Linked DNA regions of Homo sapiens: region 1 is linked to region 2. Evidence: promoter capture Hi-C in 16 types of primary human blood cells and fetal thymus (Javierre and others, 2016). All regions are on one chromosome and are shown on one strand. The core of a region is centred on a gene start or on the middle of the fragment in contact, and the rest is flanking DNA. Distances in the headings are between cores, read along the strand shown.

The links. The method cuts DNA at HindIII sites, captures the fragments that hold promoters and counts their contacts. A CHiCAGO score of 5 or more calls a contact.
Region 1: a contact is called between the fragment with the promoter of OR9I1 here and the fragment with the promoter of OR5B2 in region 2, in 11 of 17 cell types (M0 macrophages, naive CD8 T cells, M1 macrophages and 8 more). The highest score is 7.1, in M0 macrophages.

The regions. Positions count from the first base shown.
Region 1 is chr11:58,123,048-58,128,844 of GRCh38, reverse strand. OR9I1 (olfactory receptor family 9 subfamily I member 1) reads left to right here and starts at 3,315. Exons shown (of 3, transcript NM_001005211.2): 1 at 3,315-3,571; 2 at 4,206-4,407. The region is part of intron 2 of OR9Q1 (olfactory receptor family 9 subfamily Q member 1); the gene reads right to left. The HindIII fragment of the contact is 7,504 bases long and covers 2,457-5,797 here.
Region 2 is chr11:58,424,749-58,431,256 of GRCh38, reverse strand. OR5B2 (olfactory receptor family 5 subfamily B member 2) reads left to right here and starts at 3,136. Exons shown (of 3, transcript NM_001005566.3): 1 at 3,136-3,238; 2 at 4,581-4,635. The HindIII fragment of the contact is 6,968 bases long and covers 1,635-6,508 here.

The DNA.
Region 1 (5,797 bases), core at 2,066-4,565, 300 kb after region 2:
TTTTACAGACACATAAACTTTAGTATTATATTTGCTTTTTTATTTTTATGCGATGTTTTGACATATGGAATTTTTAACATTTTATGTAGACACATACATATGCCTTTATGCTAACTTTCTGTATTTTTAGGTTTAAAAAAGTACATTTCCACATTTTCTTTATCCATTCATCTTGTTGATGGGCACTTCCACAAAAATTTTTTTTTAATGTTAAGTAAATTTCCCACTCTGAGTGATGACAAAGTGACAAAGATTCACTTATATTTTCTTTATAACGCGATAGATCTGACATTTGTTTTGATATAAGCTGTGAGATACTGTTCAAACTTCTCAAATACGTAACCAGTCATTTCATTATCAATGATTCCATAAATATTTCTTTCTCCACTAATGCAAAATACCACCTTTATTATATACTAATTCCTCGTGGATACTTGGATTTGTTTCTCAGCTTTGCCATTTGTCCTACTGATGTATCTACCAATTCTTACATCTGAAAAAGATTGCTTTAATTATTAAAGCTTTATAGTAAGCTTTTATATCAGGCAGGTTAATTGCTCTCTTCCTACTGTTCTTTTTTTTTTTTTTTTAGTTTTTCTTGGCTGTTTTCACCTGTTTGCCCCTACTATTCTACTATAAATATTGAAATATTTTTTCTATTAATATATTATTTTTCTAACAAATCCTTACACAAAGATTATGAAAGTGATACCCTTTTCATAATATCTAGTGATGCTCATTTTGACAGTTTGGTATACATTCTTCTAGATATTCCAGTGCCTATACAAACATACAAAACCATGAATACTTCAGAGTTAGTGTCAAAAATTTTTTTCAATTTAAATGGTAGAAAGCCAAATAAAATTGACTTAAAAATTAAAAAATGAAATTTGTTGATGTAACCAAAAACACTTTATCTGGATAGCTCCAGGCAAGACTTGCTTCAGAAATTCAAATATCCTCAGGCTGCAGTCTTGGACATTGGGGTTTTCCAAAAGTCCAAACTTCATTAGACCTCAGTCTTCCTTTCTTCCTCTCTTAACTTCTCTCTGGGCTATTTTCACTCATTCAGTGGCATCAGAAGCCCCAGATATAAACACTCAAAATTCTATCAGGAAAAAAGAGCATCTTTAAGTATCCCAGTTAACAGATCAGTACACCCACCTGCAGCTGCTATGAGTATTGGCTGCTAAGAGCTCACAGCTCTCCTTCTCTGGAGAATTGCCATTAGCTAAGGGATCCACTTTTCCCAGAATGCCTGGGAAGTCACACCACTTGGAGGCAGCCCACAGTCAATGGATGGTTGGTGTGGGCTGCAAAAAGCCAAATCCCTTGTCTGGAGGCAGAACTAGGCCCATGGCATAATTCACATTCCAGAGTTACTCTAAGAATCAGGCCAAAGCTAGCCTCCAGCTGAAACTACATCCTACATCTTTGCTTAGCTATTTCCTGTTTCATTCACTCCCTTACAGGTTTCTCCTTCAAGCACTCCCTCAGTGAGGCACTTGCCCAAAATTCTGTCCCGGGTCTTTTTTTAAGGAAGCTAACCTAAGATGCATCTCTTCCCAAAAGTCCAAACAGAAGTTCTGGAGTGAGGCCGGGCACGGTGGCTCATGCCTGTAATCCCAGCACTTCTGGAGGCCGAGGCGGGCAGATCACTCGAGGTCAGGAATTCAAGACCAGCCTGGCCAACATGGTGAAACTCCGTCTCTACTAAAACTACAAAAATAAGCTGGGCGTGGTGGCACATGCCTGTAGTCCTAGCTACTAGGGAGGCAGAGGTGAGAGAATCGCTTGAACCCGGGAAGTGGAGTTGCAGTGAGCCAAGATCATGCCATTGCACTCCAGCCTGGGCGACAGAGCAAGACTCTGGTGAAATGCTTAACAATAACAATAACAATATTAAAGATAACAATAGTAATGATTATGTTATACATCAAAGCACTCTAGATCCCCCAATGTGTCAAAAGGAAGGAAGGTAATATCTACTGTATAGTCACCCCATTCTACAAGTTCCCCAGGGGATGTTGAATGGAATATTCTTATTACTGGCATATTCCTTCACCCTGTCCCAATTACCACTCTACCTTCTATACCATTCCAGGAAGTATTAGAATACACTACATATACTCTTACCACACAGTTATTTCAATAGATATTTAATTATAGGAAATAATAAATATTGTCCAAAAATGTATTGGAAGGTAGAATTTCTTGTGCTAACTGCCAGGAGTCCTGATCTGTGGCTGCCACCCTTCTTTGTAATATATTCTTGTATCAACTGGCATCTGGCATCTGCAATTATGAAAACCACCCTAGTTCGCCTGAATGCTTGCTAATTTTCAAAGGTTTTTTATCCCAGCCATGTTACTTAGAAGCAAACAGAGCACATGGCCTCTTTGAGATTTCTTCTGCTGGAAAAGTTCTGATCCTACAATAAAAAGCTGATGAAAGCTTATAGGACACAGAGAGGTTCTACTGAATCAGGAACCAAGTTATTAGTAGGAAGAAAGATAGGTTCTCCAGGAACCCACAATCCAGCAGAGGAGATGAGACTATTCACTAAAGAATAACTATGAACACTGTAAGACAAGTGGAGTTCAGTGCCAAATTATGTGGTTCTAACAAAGAGATCATGGGTTTCAGAGACGAGGGAAGAGACAAGAGCTGGAGTGGTTAGAGAGTTGACCATGGAAACCCTGGAAATAGATCTTTAAGGAAGGTGAGCTGACAAGCTCCTCAGTATAGACATGAATGAAGTATGTTTAGACCACACCAGACTCATACCTTCCTGAGCCAATAATCACTCTTCCTTGAAATTCTGAGCAGACAATGCAGCCAGGTTTCAGCCCCTGATATGGGACTTGACATCAGGACTAAGGATGAGTGTGTTGTAAAGAGAACTTTACCAGGAGTCCTAAGATCTGAGTTCCAGTCCTGATATTACCACTGAGTAACTTTGGGAATGGTGAGCCAGTGGCAAAGAAAAACCAAGTTCATTCCCAGCAGAGTCTGCAGTTGAGCTTTGAGACAAACAAGGCTTACGAGTTTTCATGAGCTCCCATAAGATTTGTTTTTATTCTCTCAGAAGTGTGCAGAAGCTGAGATAATGAGCCTCTGCTGAAGTGTGGTCTCCCTGACCGGGCCGGCTATTCTCTGGAGTCCCAGGGGCTGTCCCAGGTCCTGATTCATGATTCAAGGAAAACCACTGAGATCACTGCATCCCTCCCATAAAACTATCCCCAAAGGCAATTTAAATATCCCACTGGTTTGCTTAGTAAGAAGAAAACCTAAAGTCAGTCAGCTACATACGTCTATTTGAGCAATCTTAGCTGCTTTCTACAAAATGCTTAAACAACCTTAGCTTAGCTTGACTACAAGGCCAAGATAAATCCAACTGAATTATTCCACCAGGTAATTAAGACTTAATTATTACCTTGGCTCTGAAGTAAGGTCCACACAAACTAGAGAAGGTGTAACTGGGCAGAGAATCTTGCCTTTGTCATCAGAAGTTGTCATCTGATAGGACCATGACCAGACTGGGATTTCAGCTCTTATGTGAAATATACAAGTAAGACTGGATCAGCTTTTTTTTGGGGGGGGGGCGGTGGGTAAGGGGGGAATCTACAGCTTTAATCTCTTTGGGCTTTTGTGTCACTAAGTAGATTTCAGAAAATATAAATAGTTTCATGTGGGAGGCGTGGTACTAGACTGCAGAGCTTAGACAAGATATTTTCCTGTAAATGACTCTACTTTCTGTAATTATGCTGGAGTAGAATTAGTCATATGTACTAGGACTCTGGCTTTGGAATAAGACAGACCTGGATTAGACTCCAGGCTTTTTCATTGACTAGTCATGTGACCTTGGACAAGGTACTTAACTATTCCGAGTCCTAGTCTCTTCCAGGACAAAATAATACCTTTTTTGTAGGATCATTGTATGAATTATATGAACTAATGTGTCTACAATGCATAGTATTGTGATCAGCGCAGAGAAGATGTTCGATAAATGGTTGCCAGGATTAGGAAAAGCAGCACAGCGTGTTGATTCAACACTCCAACTCTGGGGTCAGAGAACCAGGGTTAGAATTTAAACATATTTTCTTTCTAGCTGTGAAACCTCAAGCAAAACATCTAATGTCTCTAAACCTTCATTTCCTCATCTGTAAAATAAAATATTTCTCTCTCATTATGTTATTGTCAAGTTGAAAGGAAATAAAAGCCTTTAAAGTGCTTAGCATCTACCTGACTTGGAGCAAGAGCTCAGCAAATGTTAACAACAATATTTCAAGACACTGATTTCAGTAAGGTGAGAAACATTAACTTTGTTGAGCTCCTTCACCCTCCCCAAGGGACTCAATCTTTGGAGGAAAATGAAGAAGAGTATGGAGAACATCCCAAGTTAAAGTAAGTACAAGTGTTAGGGACCATCTCTTCTGTAAAGGGTTCCTCCTGAATTAGAGGAGTCTTTTTCCCTATCCCCTCCAGAGGTCACATATTCTTTTATGTCACATATTATAATTTAAATATATCACAAGTAATAATATCAACCTATAAATGTTCCTAGGCTTTCTTAAAAGAGTCACTGGCCATAAACCGTTGCTTTCCCTTTCATAAACTGTCCTGGGTTCGGGGAGTTGGTTGTTTCTCTCTACTCTTGGCCTCACCCAAGCTGATGGTACCCCAATCTCCTTCTTAAACAAGATCACACAAAACTGGGTGTCACCAGTCTGCTCCTAAAATTTTTCCCTCTGGGAAATATTTTGGAAATTGCCTGTCTGAAAAATAAGCAAGCTCTACCATATTAGATAAACATCCATTCTATTTCAAGAATCGTTACTATATTCTCATTTTATTATTGAAAAAATTGAGGTTCCAATTGGTTGAGCAGTTTTCCAAGGGTATATCAAGAGGGATATGGTCCAACTAAGTCTCTCTCAAGTTATAAAGAAAGAAAAAGAAGAAAAAACATGGACCACAAAGAACTCCAACATCAATCTTTATACTTGATGCCCACAGAAGTTGAGTATTTGCCTAATGGTTTTAGAGAGGCGCTTTGATTTTAAAGGTTTGGGGCTTGGATCTGCATAAAGGGTCTTTCTCATGCCCTAAAAAGAGAACATGATAAGATGGAAAGAATACAGAATTTGGAATTAGAATGTCCTAGGTTCAAATGTCTGTTCTGTTCCTTCCTAGGTGTATAATAAGTTGGACAACCTTCTTAACTTCTCTGAACTCTGCTTTGTTCATCCATAAAATAGTCATAGCTATACCCAACTTGGAGGGCTTCAGGAAGGACTAGAGCTAATGTATGAAACAGGCCTTGCATGCATGTGCCACAAACTCAGTGTGATTGCATCTGCACCCCAACAATCTGCCACCTAATCTCTGGTCAGGAGCCTTGAACAATTGTGTCTCTAATCAGAGAGACCCCCAGGAATTAGCCATGAGATAGATGTAATATGACCTACAACAATTTCAGAAGTAGATACTGAGAAAGGTGTTGAAATTAACCAAGTTATCTCATGATTTGAAGGTAAAAAAGCTCTGATTAACTGCAGGGAGATTTCTTTGTTTCCATAGATTATAAAGATATAGGAAAATGGAGGGAGACAACAAAACAAATTTATAGCTGAAAGCAGAGGATTTGCCATCAACTAACTCTTCTGCTTCTACTTTCACTTGGAGGTAATTTTAGACAAATTAATCTCCCAAAGATTTAAATTCCTCATTGGTAAAAATAAGGTCATAATATCTGCTTAAAGGGCTGCTTTCAGAATTAAATAATATATGCAAA
Region 2 (6,508 bases), core at 1,887-4,386:
TGTGAATTTATCTGGTCCTGAGCTTTTTTGTTGGTGTTGTTGGGAAGTTTTATATTACTGATTTAATCACTCATTATTGCTCTGTTCAAGATTTTTCTCTCCCATTCAATCTTAGGAGGTTATTTGTTTCCAGGAATTTATTCATGTTCTCTACGTTTCTAGTTTGTGAGTGCAAAGTTGTTCATGGCAGCCTCTGATGATCTGTGGTATTAGCTGTGGTTTTAGCTGTAATGTATTCTTTTTTATTTTGGATTATGTTTATTTGGATCTCTTCTCCTGTTTTTCTTAGGTAGTTTAGCTAGTGGTTTGTCTATTTTATTTGTTTTTGACCTGATTTCATTTAGTTCTACCCTGATCTCTGTTATTTGTTTTATTCTGGTAGCTTTGGATTTTGTTTGTTCTTGTTTTACTAGTTCCATGAGGTACAATGTTATGTTGCTAATTTGTGATCTTTCTATTTTTTGATGTAGGCATTTAATACTATAAACTTCTCTCTTATCACTGCTTTTGCTGTTTTCAATATGTTTTGGTATGTTTTGTGTTTCCATTTTTATTTATTCCAAAAATTTTTAATTTATGACTTAATTTAGTAACAAACCTAAATATTGTTTAGGAATATATTGTTTACTTTCCATGTATTTGTATAGTTTCCAGAGTTCCTCTTGGTATTGATTTCTAGTTGTATTTGGCTATGCTCTGAGAAGACACTTGGTATAATTTCAACTTTTAAAAAGTTGAATACTATATTGAGACTTGTTTTGTGACATATCTTGGAGAATGTACCATGTGCCCATGAAAAAACTACATTTTACTTTTGTTAGTTACACTGATCTGTAAATGTTTGTGATGTCCATTTGGTCAAAAATTTAAGTCCAATGTTTCTTTGTTAATTTTATGTTTTGATAACCTGTCTAGTGCTATCAGTGGGGTAAGTCCCCCATTTTTATTGCATTTCTGTATGTTTCTTTCTTTATGTCTAGTAATTTTTTTATGACTCTGGGTGCTGTTCCATTTTTAGGTGCACATATATTCAGAATTTTTATATGTTCTTGCTGATTTGATCTCTTTATCATTATATAATGGCCTTATTTGTATTTTTTATCATGGTTTATTTTAAGTCTGTTTTACCTGATATAAGTGTAACTACTACTACCCACTTTTGGTTTTCATCTGTGTGGAATATCTTTTCCACCTGTTTACCTTCAGTCTATAACTGTCTACCAACCAGTAAGGTGAGTTTCTTTTAAGTAGCATGTAGTTGCTTCATGTTTTTATCCATGTCATCAATGTATATCTTTTAAGTGGAAAATTTTAATTCATTTATTGTTAAGGTTAATATTGTCATGTGAGCTTTTGTTTCTGACATAATGTAGATTGTAATCTAGCTGTTTTGTAGATTCTTCATTTCTTTTTTTCCTTTGTCTTTGTGCTTTAGTGGAGTTTTGTCATGTAGTCATTGGATTTCCTTTTTTTACTTTTTGTAATTTTGTGTTTATATGATGGTGAATATTGACATTTTGTATCCACATTTAGAACTCCTGCAGAATTTCTTATAGGGCCAGTCTAGTGGTAATGAATTCCCTCAGCATTTGATTGTCTGAGAAGAACTTTATTTCTCCTCCATTTATGAAGCTTATTCTGAATAGGATATAAAATTGGTGGTTGACAGGGTTTTTTTTTTCCTTTAAGTACTTTAAAAATAGAATCTCTATTTTTTCTGGCTTGTAAGGTTTCTGCTTTTAAAGTCCACTATTATTCTAATGGTGTTTTCTTTATAGATGACTAGACACTTTTCTCATGCTGATTTTAGGATTTTTCTTTCATGTTGACTTTAGACAATCTGATGACTATATGTCATGTTGAGGTCCTTTTTACAATGTATTTTCCTGTAGTTTGTTGGGCTTATTGTATCTGGATGTGTAAATCTCTTCCCAAACTCGGGAAACTTGTTGTCAATTATTTCCTTAAATAGGGTTTCTGAACTTTTTGCTTTTTCTTCTCCCTTGGAAATACTTATACTTCATATGTTTGGTTGCTTTATGTAGTCCCATACTTCTTAAAGGCTTTGTTTGTTCTTCTTTATTCTCCTTTCTTTATTTTTGTCTGATTGAATTAATTCAAAAGACCTGTCTTCAAATTTTGAGATTCTCTTCTCTGCTCGTTCTAGTCTATTCTTAAGGCTTTCAACTGTTCTTCATAATTCTTTCAGTGAAATTTTCATTTCCAGAAGTTGTTTGTTTCTTTAAGATCTCTACCTTCTTGGTAAATTTCTAGCTCATATCAGGAATTGATTTTCTGATGTCTTTGCATTGGTATTCAGTTTTCTCTTATGTCTTATAGAACTTCTTTAAAATCAGTATTTTGAATTCTTTATCTGACATTTTGAAGATTTCTTATTGGTTCAAATCCATTGCTAGAGAATTACTGTGCTCCTTTGGAGGTGTTATAGCACTTTGTTTTTCATACTTCCAGTATTATTATCCTGATTTCTTTGCATCTGGAGAATTAGTCACTTCTATTATTGAATTTACTTTCATTGGGGTGTGACTTATTTTTCTTGGGAATGTGACTATAATGTATGCTGAGTAGGGTTATTTGGCTTTGTTTCTGGCTGTCTAAACTGGTGTAGACTCTGTATGATTTTCTTGTTTGTAAATATCCTTAGTGTACTGGTTTGGGTGTCCCAGATAATGATTTGGGCTATGGAACACACAGTGGTCCTGGTTCCATGCTTTGTATCCAAGGCAAGAGGGCAAAGCTGGGCAGTGTTGGGTTGTGCAAGTCTGCACTTGAACCCCACGATGGCATGTACAAGTGCTGGCCCTTACAAGGTTCAGAGAGCAATCCTCAGACCTCTGAAGAAACGCTCCAGCAATAAGCAGAGCAACTGCTGCTATGCCAATGACCCCATGAGGGAAAGAGTACATCCTAGGCTCCATGGCCTATCAAGGGGTAGTAAGACCCAGTTTGCTCTCATTAAACCCAGCAGGGCTCTTTCCCACAGCTGGACACTAGCAGTGCGTTGGGACAGTTAGCCAACTCAAATGCACTTTGCCTTTAGAGTGTGAAAATGCCTCAGGCTGCAAAACTTGCTACCGTGGTCAAAACCACTCCTCTCAGACTCAAACCCTCCTGGTCTTGTCCTGCAAGGTGGATTCCCAATTCCATTGTCCACAGCTGAAGCCCATGCTATTCTTGCCTCTCCATTCTGGCCATGTGGATTCCTCCTCCAATCAAGGTAAGATCACAAATCTCTGGCTAACAACTCTACAAACCAGTGACTGACACCAATGCTAGCTGGCAGGTTCCTGTGCAACCCACTATGAGTTAGCATCAGGAATGACCTCCTTCCATTGGTCCTTAAGTCTGAGAGTGCATGTGGGGTACTTCCCAGTGCTCTTCCTTCTCACAGTCCCTTGACTGTTCCCCAAGTCTGATCCAGGTTTTGGGAAACTCAAAAAGTTCCCGATAGCCTAGGTTGCCTGGCTTCCTGGTGGGTATGTGTATTGTGGAGCACTCCCCCTCTCACATATGGAGGGACTGATTCACAGTTTTCCATTTGGGCTGCTGTCTGTCTTGTTTTCAGCAGTATACAAAGTTTTCTTTCACTTTTATATTGAACAATCATGTTTCTACTTGGATGCAAATTCACAGTGTGAATCTCTACACACCACTTGCTATTTCCAAGTGAGCAAGGATTCTGGCAAAGCATCCATTCTGCTATCTCAGAAAAAAAATACTCATCTCTGTTTTATTAATGAGAGAACTGAAGTGCGTAAGTGTTTATACAACCTATAATCTCAATATGAACTTTGTGAAGTTATGCTGCCATCGGCCAACGAAACTTACATAACACTTTAGCCTAGTTTCCATTATGCCACTCATGATTCTGTCTGATTTCTGCCAGGAAAGTTAATGATGAATCTTTTCTGAAGATGTTCACATTACCAAGAAGAAATAACCCTGAGTAAAGTAAATACACTGGTGTTCTTCCTAAGAAAATGGAACCAGGCTTTCATATGCAGTTTAATTATTGCTTCTCTAGATGATTGGAGTGAGAGACTGTGGTTATTCTCATGGGTAACTTGTCCCCTGAGAACTTTATGTACGTTCAAATTCCTCAATTATTGTTAGTTCCCAGTCATTGGTCTCTAACATCCCAACATGACTCTATTTAACATCATGTTAGAGGTTCCACCCTGTGTGTCACCTTTTGGTGATCATTTATTGATCTCAGTGTAAAAGGTTGTCCATTGTACTAAGTGGCCTTATTTCACACTGGTATATTACTCTGAGTCTGCAACAATGGCCAGGGATAAGACCCCCAGCTAAAAATGATGTTCATTGCAGATACGATGATCCCTTCTTACAGCTCTTTAGGACTTTACAGAGTGCATTCAGAGACTTCTATTTTTCCTCACAGCAGCAGCCCTGTGTGACAAGTTGGAGAATATTTTCTAATCTCCACCTAGTCATTACTTTTTCCTTAAATCTCCCTCCCTCTAGAGAACTTCAATATTTGTGACTAGACATTAAATAATAACTTCTTAAATAGGAGCTTTTCTTTCTTCTTTGAGTAGGACTTGCAATTTGAAGATACCAACTGAAAGTGTGTCATCTTCCTTGAAGAGCAAGGTAAGTTTCTAGCTCTGTTCTACGGTCTGTTTAGGTTGTAGTAATAGAATATGTGTTATATAAAAGTTCAAGGGCAAACATTTTCCCATTGAGTAATCAGAGTTCAGTTTCCCAGCTTTTAATATTTTCATGCTATCACGCTATTTAGCCACAGTCCAGGTGTTACAACAATCTCCATTAATTGGGAAAATGGTGATTTTATTCAAATAATAGAAGATGGTATTATTCTCATCATTTAAAATTCATATGCTTAGAGGGCAACAGACATTGGTGCCTATCGAAGGGTGGAGGATAGGAGGAGGGAGAGGATCAGAAAAAAAATAACTAATGGGTCCCAGGCTAATACCTGAGTGATGAAATAATCTGTATAACAAACCCCCATGATGCAAATTTACCTATGTAACAAGCCTGTACATGTATCCCTGAACTTAAAATAAAAGCAAAAAAACAAAAAACAAAACCCTTATACACACAAAAAATCCATGTGCTTAGAAGAACATTTAGAAAATGATGGGCACTCTAAATACTTGTTGAGGCAATGAGAGAATGTATCTAAATGAATAAATGAATAAATAAATAAGTCAGCAAATGATCAGTGAGCACATTATAAAATACATGGTTCTGTGTTACTGAAGCACAGTCTCATGCCTAACTTTGCACAGGCTATTCAGAGGCTCTTGATTGAAGGCTTTAGATTTTTTAAAATAAGGAGTCCACACGATTTACATTGTGACCCATAATGTATGACTGCATGCATGTGTACACACGCACATACACACACAGCAAAATCAAAACTTACATGGAACCCTATTTTTCACCTACAATGCACCTTTACTTTCTATTTTTTTATGCTAAATGAGCTAATGTATGCAAAATACATAAAAGAGAATCTGCACATAGTGAGTGATTTATGTGTTAAAGGTCATTCCTAACAATAGCAGTTATATTTAATTTAGTTTATTGATGCTAGTGTTTTTTTATTCTGTCTTTCCTTGCCATAGAGAACTTGGAGCTTTTTTTGACCACTACCTGAGACATATTTTTTTTCTAATGTTATTTATGCATTATTTCATGACCGAATTTCCAATTTTAGACCTAGTATTCAGGATTGACTATCTCTTTTTTTCCAGGCACAAGGTAAACTTCTATGTTCCATATATACATTTAGTAAAAGAGGGAATTTGTGCAAAAGCAGTGGGACGGCTATAGATACTATATTATTTCAGAACAGAAGTAGATGCTTTAAATATTTTTTTTCTAAAAACATATGCTGAGGCTGGAGTATAGAGATGTCAAAACTTCCATTGGTAGGGTGTTCAGTGATACTGCTTCCCTAAAGAAGATGAAAAAAATGAGATAGATGATGCTCTGATTAAGTAGGTGGTAATTTCATCTTATTCACTATTGGTTAGGCTTCTACTTGAAGTAAAACAAACAAAAATAACAGAAGTGTGAATTGACAGCTCTTCAAACTACAAAAGGATCTAAGTAAGTTAGCAAGATGCATACAGAATTGTAACCTTTCCCCCATAATCTCATCCTTATTATGACTAGCAATCTAATGCTCATTGTGAAGTAGCTAAAAGCACAAATTTTGATTAGGTTGGAACTTGGTTTCAATTGTGAATCTTGACTGTTCTCCATACTAGTTGTATAATTGTAGAATATCACAAAACTTTTCAAATATCAAATTCTTATAATGGTAAAATAGTAATAACAATAATACTTATCACACACAAACACACACATGTAAACGTTTATATAAAAAGTTCTTAACATCTGTTGTAGAACATAGTATATTCTAAAAGTGATTATGTGATTTAAGTTTGGCAAACATAATGCTTTCATGGGCTAAACTTATGCAGTGTGGAAA